3 separate regions of the Homo sapiens genome follow, and regions 1 and 2 are each linked to region 3. The links are contacts of gene promoters, found by promoter capture Hi-C in blood cells and fetal thymus (Javierre and others, 2016). All regions are on one chromosome and are shown on one strand. Each heading gives the region's core, a stretch centred on a gene start or on the middle of the fragment in contact. The rest is flanking DNA. Distances are from core to core; before and after follow the strand shown.

The links. Contacts are between HindIII fragments. The CHiCAGO score rates a contact against its expected background, and 5 or more counts as called.
Region 1: a contact is called between a fragment that was not itself captured here and the fragment with the promoter of SRP14 in region 3, in 5 of 17 cell types (total B cells, naive B cells, megakaryocytes and 2 more). The highest score is 9.4, in total B cells.
Region 2: a contact is called between a fragment that was not itself captured here and the fragment with the promoter of SRP14 in region 3, in 15 of 17 cell types (naive B cells, total B cells, naive CD4 T cells and 12 more). The highest score is 22.5, in naive B cells.

The regions. Positions count from the first base shown.
Region 1 is chr15:40,241,399-40,245,398 of GRCh38, forward strand. The region is part of intron 1 of BUB1B-PAK6 (BUB1B-PAK6 readthrough); the gene reads left to right. The region is part of intron 2 of PAK6 (p21 (RAC1) activated kinase 6); the gene reads left to right. Among named protein-coding and RNA genes, the nearest start is that of PAK6, 4.3 kb to the left of the region's middle. RefSeq lists enhancers at 926-1,425, 3,750-4,000. The HindIII fragment of the contact is 1,282 bases long and covers 1,208-2,489 here.
Region 2 is chr15:40,262,378-40,266,390 of GRCh38, forward strand. It overlaps BUB1B-PAK6 (BUB1B-PAK6 readthrough), which reads left to right. Exons shown (of 10, transcript NM_001128629.3): 3 at 2,404-2,612; 4 at 3,465-4,013. The coding sequence starts at 2,409. It overlaps PAK6 (p21 (RAC1) activated kinase 6), which reads left to right. Exons shown (of 11, transcript NM_001395430.1): 4 at 2,404-2,612; 5 at 3,465-4,013. The coding sequence starts at 2,409. Among named protein-coding and RNA genes, the nearest start is that of PAK6-AS1, 11 kb to the left of the region's middle. The HindIII fragment of the contact is 1,135 bases long and covers 881-2,015 here.
Region 3 is chr15:40,037,931-40,041,825 of GRCh38, forward strand. SRP14 (signal recognition particle 14) reads right to left here and starts at 1,251. Exons shown (of 5, transcript NM_003134.6): 1 at 1,163-1,251; 2 at 946-1,018; 3 at 352-464. The coding sequence starts at 1,186. SRP14-DT (SRP14 divergent transcript) reads left to right here and starts at 1,381. Exons shown (of 3, transcript NR_040060.1): 1 at 1,381-1,518. LOC124903471 (a long non-coding RNA gene) reads left to right here. Exons shown (of 2, transcript XR_007064596.1): 2 at 1-479. RefSeq lists enhancers at 269-1,214, 915-964, 985-1,164, 1,215-2,159 and a silencer at 1,245-1,454. The HindIII fragment of the contact is 8,433 bases long and covers 1-3,895 here.

The DNA.
Region 1 (4,000 bases), core at 599-3,098, 200 kb after region 3:
TGAGCTTAGGAGCCGTGTGGCCCCCAGGCCTGGTGGGCCTGGGACTCAGCCCCACGGGAGCTCATCTAGCTGGGGTTGAGGCCTTTGGGGCAAGCAAGGAGTCCCCTCTGCAGGCAGGCTTCCCTGGCGGTTGTCCTGGCCCAGGCTTGGAGGTGGCACCTGGGAGCCCTAGTGACAGAGCGCCTGGTCAGGGAAGGGTCGGCACCAGAGGCAAGCCCTTCTGGGAGCAGCTGATTTGGATGGAAGCTCTGTGCACCTGAGAGGGGGAGTGTGGGGACTGCACGGCCTCTCCAGTGCCCCGAGGACAAACTGATGCTTTGTGAGTGCTCTGGGCCCTCCCGGACTTGCCAGACACAGGGAGGGTGCAGTGGGTGGGGTCTCCAGCCAAGGAAAGCCCGCTCTGTGCACAACTCCTAAGGATGACCAAAAAGTCCCCTGCCCTGGAGGAGCACATGTGCTCAGAGTCAGGAGGAACCCATAAGTGTCTCTCATGCCAGTGAATTCCCACACCTGGCTCCTGGATGAGGAGAATGACCCAGCTGTGGGGGTATCTCATGCTGCCTCACAAAAGGTGACTCTGTGCCTAGGAGTCTTCCATGCATGCAGAGCTGAGCAGGGGCTGCTGCCCAGTTGGGGTCAGAGGGGCGGAGGCTGTCGAGCACTAGGTAGACAGCAGGCCAGCAGCGGGCAGCAGGTTGGGCCAGGAGGGAGCAGAGAGTAGGGGCCAGGGCAGGCTGAGCAGGAAAGGAAAAGGCTGCCTGGGGTCCTGAGGGCTCAGGGAGGACTCCAGACAGCTGGCCTTCTTATGCCAGCCCGCTTCTGTGGGAGAGGCCCTCTGCGTAGGTGACTGGGCAGGGAAGAGGCTAAGACACTGAAAGATTGAATTCCTCACCCAAATGGCCCAGAGATGCCCACCGCACACAGTGTCCTGGGTGCAGAAGGCAGGAAGGACTCATGGGAGGCTGTCCTGTGGACTGAAGCAGAAAGTCCTTCCCGTAAGATGCGCTCGTCGCCCTGAGCAGGAAGGCCCAGGCTGCGGAAGCAGTGCCTGAGACCTGAGCAGCAGGAAGGACACCAGTAAAGCTCATCAGGAGGCATCTGGCCGCCTGCACCTACCGGGCCTCAAGGAGAGAGCTTATTTCTGGGAGCCTCCTTGGTAGAAAGAGGTGGACTAGCCAGCAGGTTGGGGAGGAGCATTGCAAATGGAAGCTTCTGAGGGCAGAATGAGTTCTGAACTTGCTGAAGCCAAGGCTGGCCCTCCTGCCCAGGGCGAGCAGTCTGCCTGGGCCTGGGAAGTTGTCCCCTTCTGAGGAGGTGCCCTCCACCCCACCAGAGCTCAGCCCTAGGGGCCAGGAAGGGCTAAAGCGAGAAGAGTGAGATGTGAGATAAAGGGGACCGTGTCTCTTCCTGGGAGGGTGTGGGGTCCAGGCAGCACCTTGTTCTGGCGCACAGGCTGCCAAGCAGATGACAGCCATGGCCTGACTACTAGGTGCAAGCACTGGTGGCAGGAAGAGGGGGTGGACAAAGCAGGACAGAGCTCTTGCCCTGGGGATGCTCATAGCCCTGCAGCAGAGCAGTGGAAAGGAAAGCTGAGCTGAGCGTGGGGCCAACCGCGCCAGAAACAAGCGGAGCCACAAAGCCACCATCAGCCCCCAGGTGGCTTCGTCCTTTTGCCAACTCTGGGTCCAACTCATCGCTGAAGTTGGCAGCCATGACCCATCCAGCCCAGATAATTTATAAATTTACACCAATACTGGGCAACGGTTCTTAACATAGAACTTTATAAAGATGGACAAAAAAGATAAGTTGAGAATGACAAACAAAGGAAGAAGCAGCTTCTATCTGCAGTTGCAGGAGGAGGTGAAGGCTCGGGGAGATAGACCAGGGCGGGAAGAGGCAGGATGGTGGTTGGTTAACATGAAGTCAGCAGCATGAGCCTCAGGCCCGGTGCTGCCTCTTCCTGGTGACTCGGGCAAGTTACTTCATGTCTCTGGGTCTCAATTTCCTCTCCTGTCCAACAGAGATAATTATAGTACCTATGAGTTAGGGTTGTTGAGAGGATTAAATAAGATAATAAGTGAATGCTCTGAATGGCATGACTGGCACATACGTACATGTTCAGCAAGAGATAACTATTATCACCGTGATGATAACTGGTGTCAGAGGAACAAAGTGCCAGGAGAGACCATACCTTGTTCGGGGGAATCAGGAAAGGCTTCACGGAGGAGGTGACTTTGAAAGAACCCTCCTCTGAGGAGAAACAAAAGCTCTCAGAATGCCCAGGAAAGCTGGGAAGAAACAATAATGCCAGGTCTATTTTTTTCCCAAATAGCATATTGTTTGTCCACTGAGGCTTTCTAAGGAATAACTTGAGACTCCTCTTTCTGGGGTCTAGACTTGGAGGTCTTGAGGACTTGAAGTGGGCTGCCCCTAGTGAAGGGATCGAGAGCCGGGCTGTGGCCCTGGCCCTACTCCTTTTGGGGACTGGAAGCTTTTTTCACATGCTGGTCCTAACTGCATGAGGAACTGTGTTCTGCTGAGCCCCATCTAAAGCATACACTTGGTGATGTGGCAGGCAGAGGGGCCAGACAAGGCCACGGCAGGCTCCTGGATCACTCTGGCAAGTAGCTTAGAAATGCCTAGTAATCGTGGGCAAGGTGCAGTGGCTCACGCCTGTAATCCCAGCACTTTGGGAGGCTGAGGTAGGCAGATCACAAGATCAAGAGATCCAGACCATCCTGGCCAACATGGTGAACCCCGTCTCTACTAAAAAATACAAAAAATTAGCTGGACGTGGTGGCGCGTGCCTGTAGTCCCAGCTACCCGGGAGGCTGAGGCAGGGGAATCGCTTGAACCCAGGAGGCGGAGGTTGTAGTGAGCTGGGATCGTGCCACTGCACTCCAGCCTGGCCACAGAGCAAGACTCTGTCTCAAAAAAAAAAAAAAAAGGCCAGTAATCGTGAGGTTCCATCTCAGAGACTTTTGTTTTCTCTTTTTTTCTTTTTATTTTTTTTTTTGAGACAGAGTTTCGCTCTTGTTGCCCAGGCTGGAGTGCAGTGGCACGATCTTGGCTCTCTGCAACCTCCGCCTCCCTGGTTCAAGCGATTCTCCTGCCTCAGCCTCCCAAGTAGGTGGGATTACAAGCACCCACCACCATGCCCGGCTGATTTTTGTATTTTTAGTAGAGATGGGGTTTCACTATGTTGGCCAGGCTAGTCTCGAACTCCTGACCTCAGGTGATCCGCCGACCTCAGCCTCCCAAAGTGCTGGGATTACAGATGTGAGCCACCACACCCAGCCTGCTTTTTCTACAAAGGATTATCTGTTCTATGAATTTAGGAAAGGTAATCCTAAAGCTTATTCACCTAAGAAAAACAAGGCAACCCCAGAGCATGACAGGCTTTCTTGGGCTGGGGGAACTCACATGTGAAAAAACAGGTTCCCTCATAACTACATGAGAGGCCGCAACTGCCTCAGCCCCAGCAAAGGGACACCTCTGCTGGCCAGCATTTCCTACAAAACCTCATCACGACACATCAGGCAGGGCAGAGACCCAAGTATTCACATAGGGCCAGTGATGACTTTTTTTGACACCTGTGGATTCTCCGTGGCAACCTATTCCCCAAAAGTGCTGCCTCGGTCAGCCAATCCCAGTGTCTCTCTGCCTAGGCAACAATCTCTTGTGCTCTGGTCTGCCCACAGCCTCCATGCACTCAGCTCTTTGGGCCTCTTGCTAAGGGGCTGGAAGCAGAGCTGTGTCCTTCAGGCTGTCAAGGACCTGGTGAGGGATCCTCTGGGTGTCCAGGGAAGCAGGTTCAGAAAGCTCAGTTCAGCTGGTGCTGTATTTTGATCTCTGATCCCAGTGCAGCGGGGACCAGCCTACTCAACTCAGTGCAGATAGCAACAAACCAGTCACCTTGCCCAAGACCTCCTGCTGCCTGCCTGCCTGCCTGGTGACCAGGACTCCTAAAGGCTGCAGCAGCAGCAGCAGAGTTAAAACT
Region 2 (4,013 bases), core at 198-2,697, 220 kb after region 3:
CCTGTAATCTCAGCTATTCAGGAGGCTGAGGCAAGAGAATCACTTGAACCCGGGAGGTGGAGGTTGCAGTGAGCCCAGATGGTGCCACTACACTCCAGTCTGGGCGACAGGGCGGCAAGACTCCTTCTCAAAAACAACAACAACAACAACAAACAACAACAAAAAAGGCAAAGGCCAAAAGGAGGAGGACAAATTTTACCAAACCATGATGTATATATGGCGAGGTCCCCAGGTCCCAGACCCCTGACATCAGGCATGACCCCTTTGACTGGTAAGTCTGAGCAGAAAGTGGTTTGGTGTTACTCCCAGACTTGTATCTGCCCAAGTGCCAGTGTCTGGAGGGCCTGAGCTTCAAGACAGGGATTCAAAGAGAGGTGACATCACAAGAGAAACAACCGTCATGTATGGGGACTCTGCTTACTTCACACACCCTAAACCCTATGAGCTGTCTTTCATTAACCCCCCTGGCTCAGATCATTTCAGTTATTTGTTCAAAATCTCTCCAAATTATTAGTGGGAGACTCCCTACAACTCATCTGCAACTCACACAGGTTGTTTTATTCCAAAGGGCTTGGTCTGTAAGGGTCCTGTACATGTGGCTCTACCTCTAGGGGGTGTTCGGTGGATCCCGAACCTCAAGACCCAGAAGCATGGCTGACATTGAGATGTGACGTGGGCTCTGATTGAGTCACGCATGGTGAATTCCTAGTGGGGAACCACTGGCTGTCCAGGGTCCCTGCCTTTCTGCCAGCTGCCTCCCAGATCTGCGACCTCCTTCAGAACCTGCCAAAATGACTAGGAAAATGCTGTTTCCATAGCAAGAGCCAAAAGAGAACATGACGGCCCTGCACTCCAGATCTTCGGGCGGATGAGTAATCCAAGCTTTCAGTTCAAGAATCATGTTTCAGTTTCTTGAAGCCTGGAAGTGACCTTTTCAGATACATAAGAACCCAGTGAGCTGTTCTGAGCCTCTTCAGATCCAAAAGCATTCAAGAGGCAGCCCTGGCCCTGTCTGCCATCAACATGTGATCCCAGGTCCGGGATCCCCTGAAGGCGAAACTAGAGCAACCCTTTGGAAGTGTCCCTCCCCTTCCCAGGCCCCCAGTTCCCCACTCTCAGATCTACCCATGCTATCCATTGCAAGCCTGTGTCACTTCTGTGTATGCAGCTCAGCACGACCTTAGGCAAAGCCAGAATCAGCAAGGCACGGGACACAGGCTTGATTGCAGGTTAAGTGTTTTATTGTTTGTTTTTTGAGACAGAGTCTCATTCTGTTGCCCAGGCTGGAGTGCAGTGGGGCAATCTCAGCTCACTGCAGCCTCAGCCTCCTGGGTTCAAGCGATTCTCCTCCCTCAACCCCATGGGTATCCGGGACTACAGGCACGTGCCACCAGGCCCGGCTAATTTCTTTGTATTTTTAGTCAAGACAGGTTTTCACCATGTTGGCCAAGCTGGTCTCAAACTCCTGACCTCAGGTGATCCACCCGCCTCGGCCTCCCAGAGTACTAGGATTACAGGCATGAACCACCATGCCCGGCCCAGGTGATGTTTTACATAGAGCTCCAATACCAGAGAGAAGAGTGTCAAGGGGAGGTGGTGCTCTCTGCCTTCTCTGGAGAGCTTTACCCCTAAGTTAGCTGCCCCTCACCCACCCCAGGCTATCCTCTTGGCTCAGGGCCTTTCTGGAATTGAGGTAAAGCACATGGTAACCATGAAGGCCCTTTGGGGGCTCCCTGATACATAATAGTCCCACACCGGGCAGCATGTCTGTGATCAGCTGGTTGGCTTTTTATTAACGTATCATATTAACAGGTTCAACCATCCTGGGACAAAGCTGAGTTGTAATAAAAAAAAAAAGCCAACAAAAAAATAACTTTAATATACTGTTGGATTCAATTCGATAGTTTTAAGATTTTCATAGTTACGTTCCTAAATGATATTGAGTCAAATTTTCCTTTTCTTGCACTCTCCTTATCTGGTTTTAAGAATCAAGGTCATACTCGTTTCATAAAACAAGCTTGCTAACTTTCCTCCCTCTTTCCCCATTTTTAAAATTCGTTGACAGACAGTGGAATGATACTTGTAATGGGCTTTGGATTTTATAAAAACACACCCCCAGAGTCTGCCTGCTCCATAGGGGACTTGGCACAGGCAAGAAGACACCTCTTTTCCTTGTTTATAGTCTGCACTGGCTTATTTATGGCACGTTTGTTGTTTCTGGGACTGTTCTGCTGGGAGCCAGCCATTTCCCTGAGGAAGCAGAGATGGAGGTGGAGGGAAGCCCTAGGCTTCTAGGGGAGCTGTGCTGGGGGAGGGGAGGGAGCCCTGAACCTGGTGCCCCAGGCCCTGCTGCAGCCACCCCTCTTTCCCGGGAGGGAGCTCAACCTTACTCTGCACTTACAGGCACCATGTTCCGCAAGAAAAAGAAGAAACGCCCTGAGATCTCAGCGCCACAGAACTTCCAGCACCGTGTCCACACCTCCTTCGACCCCAAAGAAGGCAAGTTTGTGGGCCTCCCCCCACAATGGCAGAACATCCTGGACACACTGCGGCGCCCCAAGCCCGTGGTGGACCCTTCGCGAATCACACGGGTGCAGCTCCAGCCCATGAAGGTAAGAGGGGCCGGCAGGGATGAGGTTCAGCCTCTCCCAGTACTCAGACAACCATGCCTGGCTAAACCTCAGAAAGGCCCCTGGAGGAACCACCTACTTCACAGCTATCAGTTAATCAGCTGTTTTAACTCCCTGCCTGTCAGCCTGCCATTCTCTCCCTGGGTAAGCCAGGGCGAAGGAGGCTGGGGAGACCCTCTCTGCAGGGTGGTGGGGTTGCCAGATTCAGCACATGAAAATGTGAGATGCTCAATTGCATTTGTATTTCAGATGACAACGAATAGTCTTTTAGGACGTGTCCCATTCAATATTTGGACCTGCAGCCCCATAGGGACTGAGGGCTCTCCCAGACCAGGAGAATTTTAGTTGTGAGGGTCACGACTAGTAGACCCAAGAGCCTGGTAGAAGGTGGGGTCAGGGGCCCTATCAGGGTTTGGAGGCTGCGAAGCCAGTGTGTGTGGAGGAGCCCCCGGCCTGGTGTCTCTTCCTCAGAGGGCTGGGCACATCTCTCCCAGCCACCCGTGGAGCTAGAGAATGGAGCCCCGCCCCCTGAGCTCCAGCTCCCTGGCCCAGCCGACCACACCCCTGGGCATGCTGGATGCAGCCCCATGGCACTCACCATCTGCTCTGCTGACGCTGGGCCTTCTCCCCGCATCCCTGCATCCAGCACAGGCGGGACCCACGGTGGGCCCTGATAAATTATGGAAAAATTAATGGGTGGATGACACAGCAGGGAAGGTCCTTAGGTGGTCCTCCCCAGGGCCCCCAGGGACATTCTCTGACCCTGATCTCCCAGCCACCCCTCCCTGCCACAATTGGGCAGCTCCCACACACTCTTTTCTCTTCCCCCTACAGACAGTGGTGCGGGGCAGCGCGATGCCTGTGGATGGCTACATCTCGGGGCTGCTCAACGACATCCAGAAGTTGTCAGTCATCAGCTCCAACACCCTGCGTGGCCGCAGCCCCACCAGCCGGCGGCGGGCACAGTCCCTGGGGCTGCTGGGGGATGAGCACTGGGCCACCGACCCAGACATGTACCTCCAGAGCCCCCAGTCTGAGCGCACTGACCCCCACGGCCTCTACCTCAGCTGCAACGGGGGCACACCAGCAGGCCACAAGCAGATGCCGTGGCCCGAGCCACAGAGCCCACGGGTCCTGCCCAATGGGCTGGCTGCAAAGGCACAGTCCCTGGGCCCCGCCGAGTTTCAGGGTGCCTCGCAGCGCTGTCTGCAGCTGGGTGCCTGCCTGCAGAGCTCCCCACCAGGAGCCTCGCCCCCCACGGGCACCAATAGGCATGGAATGAAGGCTGCCAAGCATGGCTCTGAGGAGGCCCGGCCACAGTCCTGCCTGGTGGGCTCAGCCACAGGCAGGCCAGGTGGGGAAGGCAGCCCTAGCCCTAAGACC
Region 3 (3,895 bases), core at 1-2,500:
GAAATAATAGCATCACCTGGTACCAAGAAACTGCTTATTGAAGGCCCAGCACAGTAAGGGGCTAAGGAATCAAATATTTATGCCAGCTGCTCCTTACAGTACTACGAATAAGGACCAATATGCTACTTTCATTTCCACAAGAGCTTTAGCAGAACTAACGACTGTCTGACCTCTACCTTCTTATTTTATTCTTGAGGTTTCCACTACTAAAGTATAGGAAGGTCCTGGTCTCAAAAATAGCCACACAGGGCAAAAGGGAAAAACAAATAAAAGCCTGGTTCAGAAACGCCCCATCCTCTGTTAAGTTCAAGTCTTTACATTTCAAAAGACAGCCTTAGAAATTAAGCTCACCACAGTGCTGATCTTCTTCTTCCCATCGGTAGCTCTTAACAGACACTTGTTGTCTGCGGGCTCAAAGCCCTCCACAGTACCCTTCTTTGGAATGGGTTTGGTTCGACCGTCATCTGAAGGAAAAAATGCATCCTGGTGAACACGGCCGCGTACGTGGCTGAGCGGCAGACAAACAGTTAAAACAGAGGAGTGGGGTAAGTGATGACCTAACCCAGCCCCGCTGCTCTAGTTTTGTTAAACACCTCATCTGCTATCACGGTCTGGCGAAACCCTGGAGAAACTATTATTTCCACGACGGAAACATGTAATATCGAAGCACGTTAAATTCCACTCAAAGTGGCGGCGTCTGGGATCCCTGACAAAGAGCCCTGGGCTGCTTGGGGCCCATTGTTACCAGAAGCAACCTAGGCGGCTCAGTGCTGGGGACTGAGCCAGCTACAATCCCTACTATTTTCCGGGCCCGAAGCCCCGAATGTGCTCAGTACAGGGTGGGGAAAGGTAGAGGAAGGCGGCGGTCCGCGGCAGACAGACTCCGGTGGCTCCCAGACACCGGGAACCCAGGGAGCATCGCCCGGCTCCCCTCCCGCTGCTTACACTTCTTCAAGGTGATATAGACGCTGCCCGACGTCCGGCACTTCTGGAAAAGTCTGGTCAGCTCCGTCAGGAACTGGAAAACAACAGGCCCAGCCCCGTTAGCCAGCCCCAAATCCTCGTCCTGCCGCGTCAAGGCCCTGGTCCTCCTGCAGGAGGCACAGGTCTCGAGTAACGCCTGAGCCGCCCCCTTCCCTCGGCCGGCCAGGCCTAGCCATACCTGCTCGCTCTCCAACAACACCATCGCGGCGACGCTGGCTCGACTCCCTCCGCTTAAGCCCCTAGCAGTGAGAGCCGGAAGTTCGGCCTAGGCTGGGCGGGACTTCCGCTACTAGACTTCCATTGTCTTCCACCAATCTCTTCTCTTCCACCAATCCCGGCCTGCGCCCTCCCCCCTCCCCGCCCGCCTAGCGCCCGCGCCCTGGGACGTCCGGGGGCCTGTGACCCGGAGGCGCTGGGGCTGTCCTGGGTCGTCACATGCGAGAAATCGTCTCACCCCAGCCAGTGTGACGGAGTGAGAGCAAAAGAAAGTTTTGATAGCAGCGTACGATTTATATTCAGCTGTATGCTGGGCAGGTAACCTAACAACTCAGTGACTCAGTTTCCTTATCCATAAAGTAAGGGTAATGATAGTATCTACCGCGCAGTGTGGTCGTGAAGCGTAAATGAAACTCAGATTAAATACGTAGAACAGTGCCTGGCACATAGAGCGTGTTCAGTAGGTATCAGCTATTGTTCTTTTCATTATTGTCATTATAAGTTCCTGTAGAGATCCTTTAAACTCTCCCTAAACGCTGACCTGCAGCTCTAGCCAGAAGGGCTGGGCCGGGCGTGGTGGCTCACGCCTGTAATCCCGGCACTTTGGGAGGCCGAGGCGGGTGGATCACGAGGTCAGGAGATTGAGACCATCCTGGCTAACACGGTGAAACGCTGTCTCTACTAAAAATACAAAAAAGTTAGCCGGGCGTGGTGGCGGGCACCTGTAATCCTAGCTACTCGGGAGGCTGAGGCAGGAGAATGGCGTGAACCCAGGAGGCAGAGCTTGCAGTGAGCTGAGATCGCGCCACTGCACTCCAGCCTGGAAGACAGAGCGAGACTCCGTCTCAAAAAAAAAAAAAAAAAAAAAAAAAATGAGGGGCTGGAGCCCAGTCTTTAGTTCTACCTCTGATTAGTCAGGAGAACTAGGTTGTAAGCCCTCTCTGCCACTAGCCAACTTGAACCCTGGGCCCTCTATAAAGTCAAGCATTCCACCACACAAGAGGTTTTCGCTGAGTGCCTCTCAGTCTGTGCCAGGCACGGTTGTAGAGGTTGGGGATGCAGCAGGATAAGAAAAGCTAAGTTCCTGGTTTCCTGGAAGTTGGGTTAAAGGGGCAGGGAGGAAATAAACAATGAAGCAAACAAGTAAGTAGTACAGCTTCAGATAATGAATTCCGTGAGACAGCCTAAGCAGGGCTGTATAATGAGAGTGGGAAGGGGACTGCCTGGGTTGGGGTCAGGGGAGTTCTCGTCGAAAAGGAGAACTTTGAGTTGAAAGCTGAAAGGACCAGCCATCCAAAGATCTAGGGACACAGTGTTTCAGACACAGGGAACGGCTAGAGCAAAACCTTCAAAGGGGAAACAAGTTGCCCTGTGTCTGTAAGACTGGCAGGTGCGGGTGGGGGTGAGGAGGGCTTGTGGAGCAAGGAGTAAAGGAGTATGGAGAGGTAGCTGGGGACCAGATTATGTAGGGCCCGTGACCATAGTAAGCCTGGATTTTGTTCTAGATACAAAGAGAAGACTCGTTAAGGAAGTTTTCAACAGAACACTGAAAATCTGATTTATATTTTTTAAAGATCCCCCTGTCTGTGTTGTGGAGAATGCACTGTAGAGAGACAGGGCAGGAAATGAGGAGCCCAGTTAGGAGATTCAAACTTAATGGCTTAAATATGTTCACTCTCTGATTTCACATTTTCTTCCAAATGGCCAGCGCCCGTTGCCCACTTCCTGCCCTAGGCTGATGACCTTGTGTAGCCAACCTGTATTGGCTTTTGGTTCTCCAGCATTTGAACCTGTTTGCAATCCCCTGTTGTGTGGGTTTTGGTGAGAGGCAATAAATAAATAAATAGAAGGGTCAGAGGGTCACTCTCTCAACTGCCCTCAGCACCTGGGCTCAAGCATATGACCTAACGTGGGTCAATCTGGTGCTCTCAACCAGGACTTTGACTTCTGAGCTAGTAATACCAAGGCCCAGGGCTCTTGCATGGGTGTCCAGTCATTTGAATGTGAGGATGTTTTTGCTCATCTGTATTGGCAGATATCATGAAAATTATGCATGGGCCCTTTTTAAAAAAATTTTATCTCATCAGCTATCATTAGTGTTAGTGTGTTTTACATATGGCCCAGGACGATTCTTTCAATGTGGCCCAGGGAAGCCAAAAGGTTGGACACGCATGCTAGAGGTTATTCATATGGTGCCATCACAAAGTGGTCTTGTGTTGGCGGCCCTATAGGAGGGGTTTTCACCAGACTGTTCTAATCTTTGCTAGTCTTGAGGTGTGCGAAGATGACTCCCCAATTTTTAATTATAGCTTTTACCTCTGTATTGAGCTCCAAACTTGCATATTCAGCTGTCCACTTGGTAGTTCCACCTGGATGTGTAATGAGCATCTCAGATATTACGTGACCAAATCAAAACTTTTTACTTCCCACATCTTTGCTATTTATTAAATGGCACCACCGTCTGACCAGTTACTCAAATAAAAACAACCATGAATCATCCCAGATTCCTTTTTCTTTTTGAGGCAGGGTCTCACTCTGTCACCCAGGCTAGAGTGCAGTGGTGCAATCTCGGCTCACTGCAGCGTCCACCTCTCAGGCTCAAGCTATCCTCCAGCCTCAGCCTCCTAAGTACTTGGGTCTATAGGCATGAGCCGCTGCCACCAGCTGTTCTTTTTCTTTTAATTTTCACATCTAC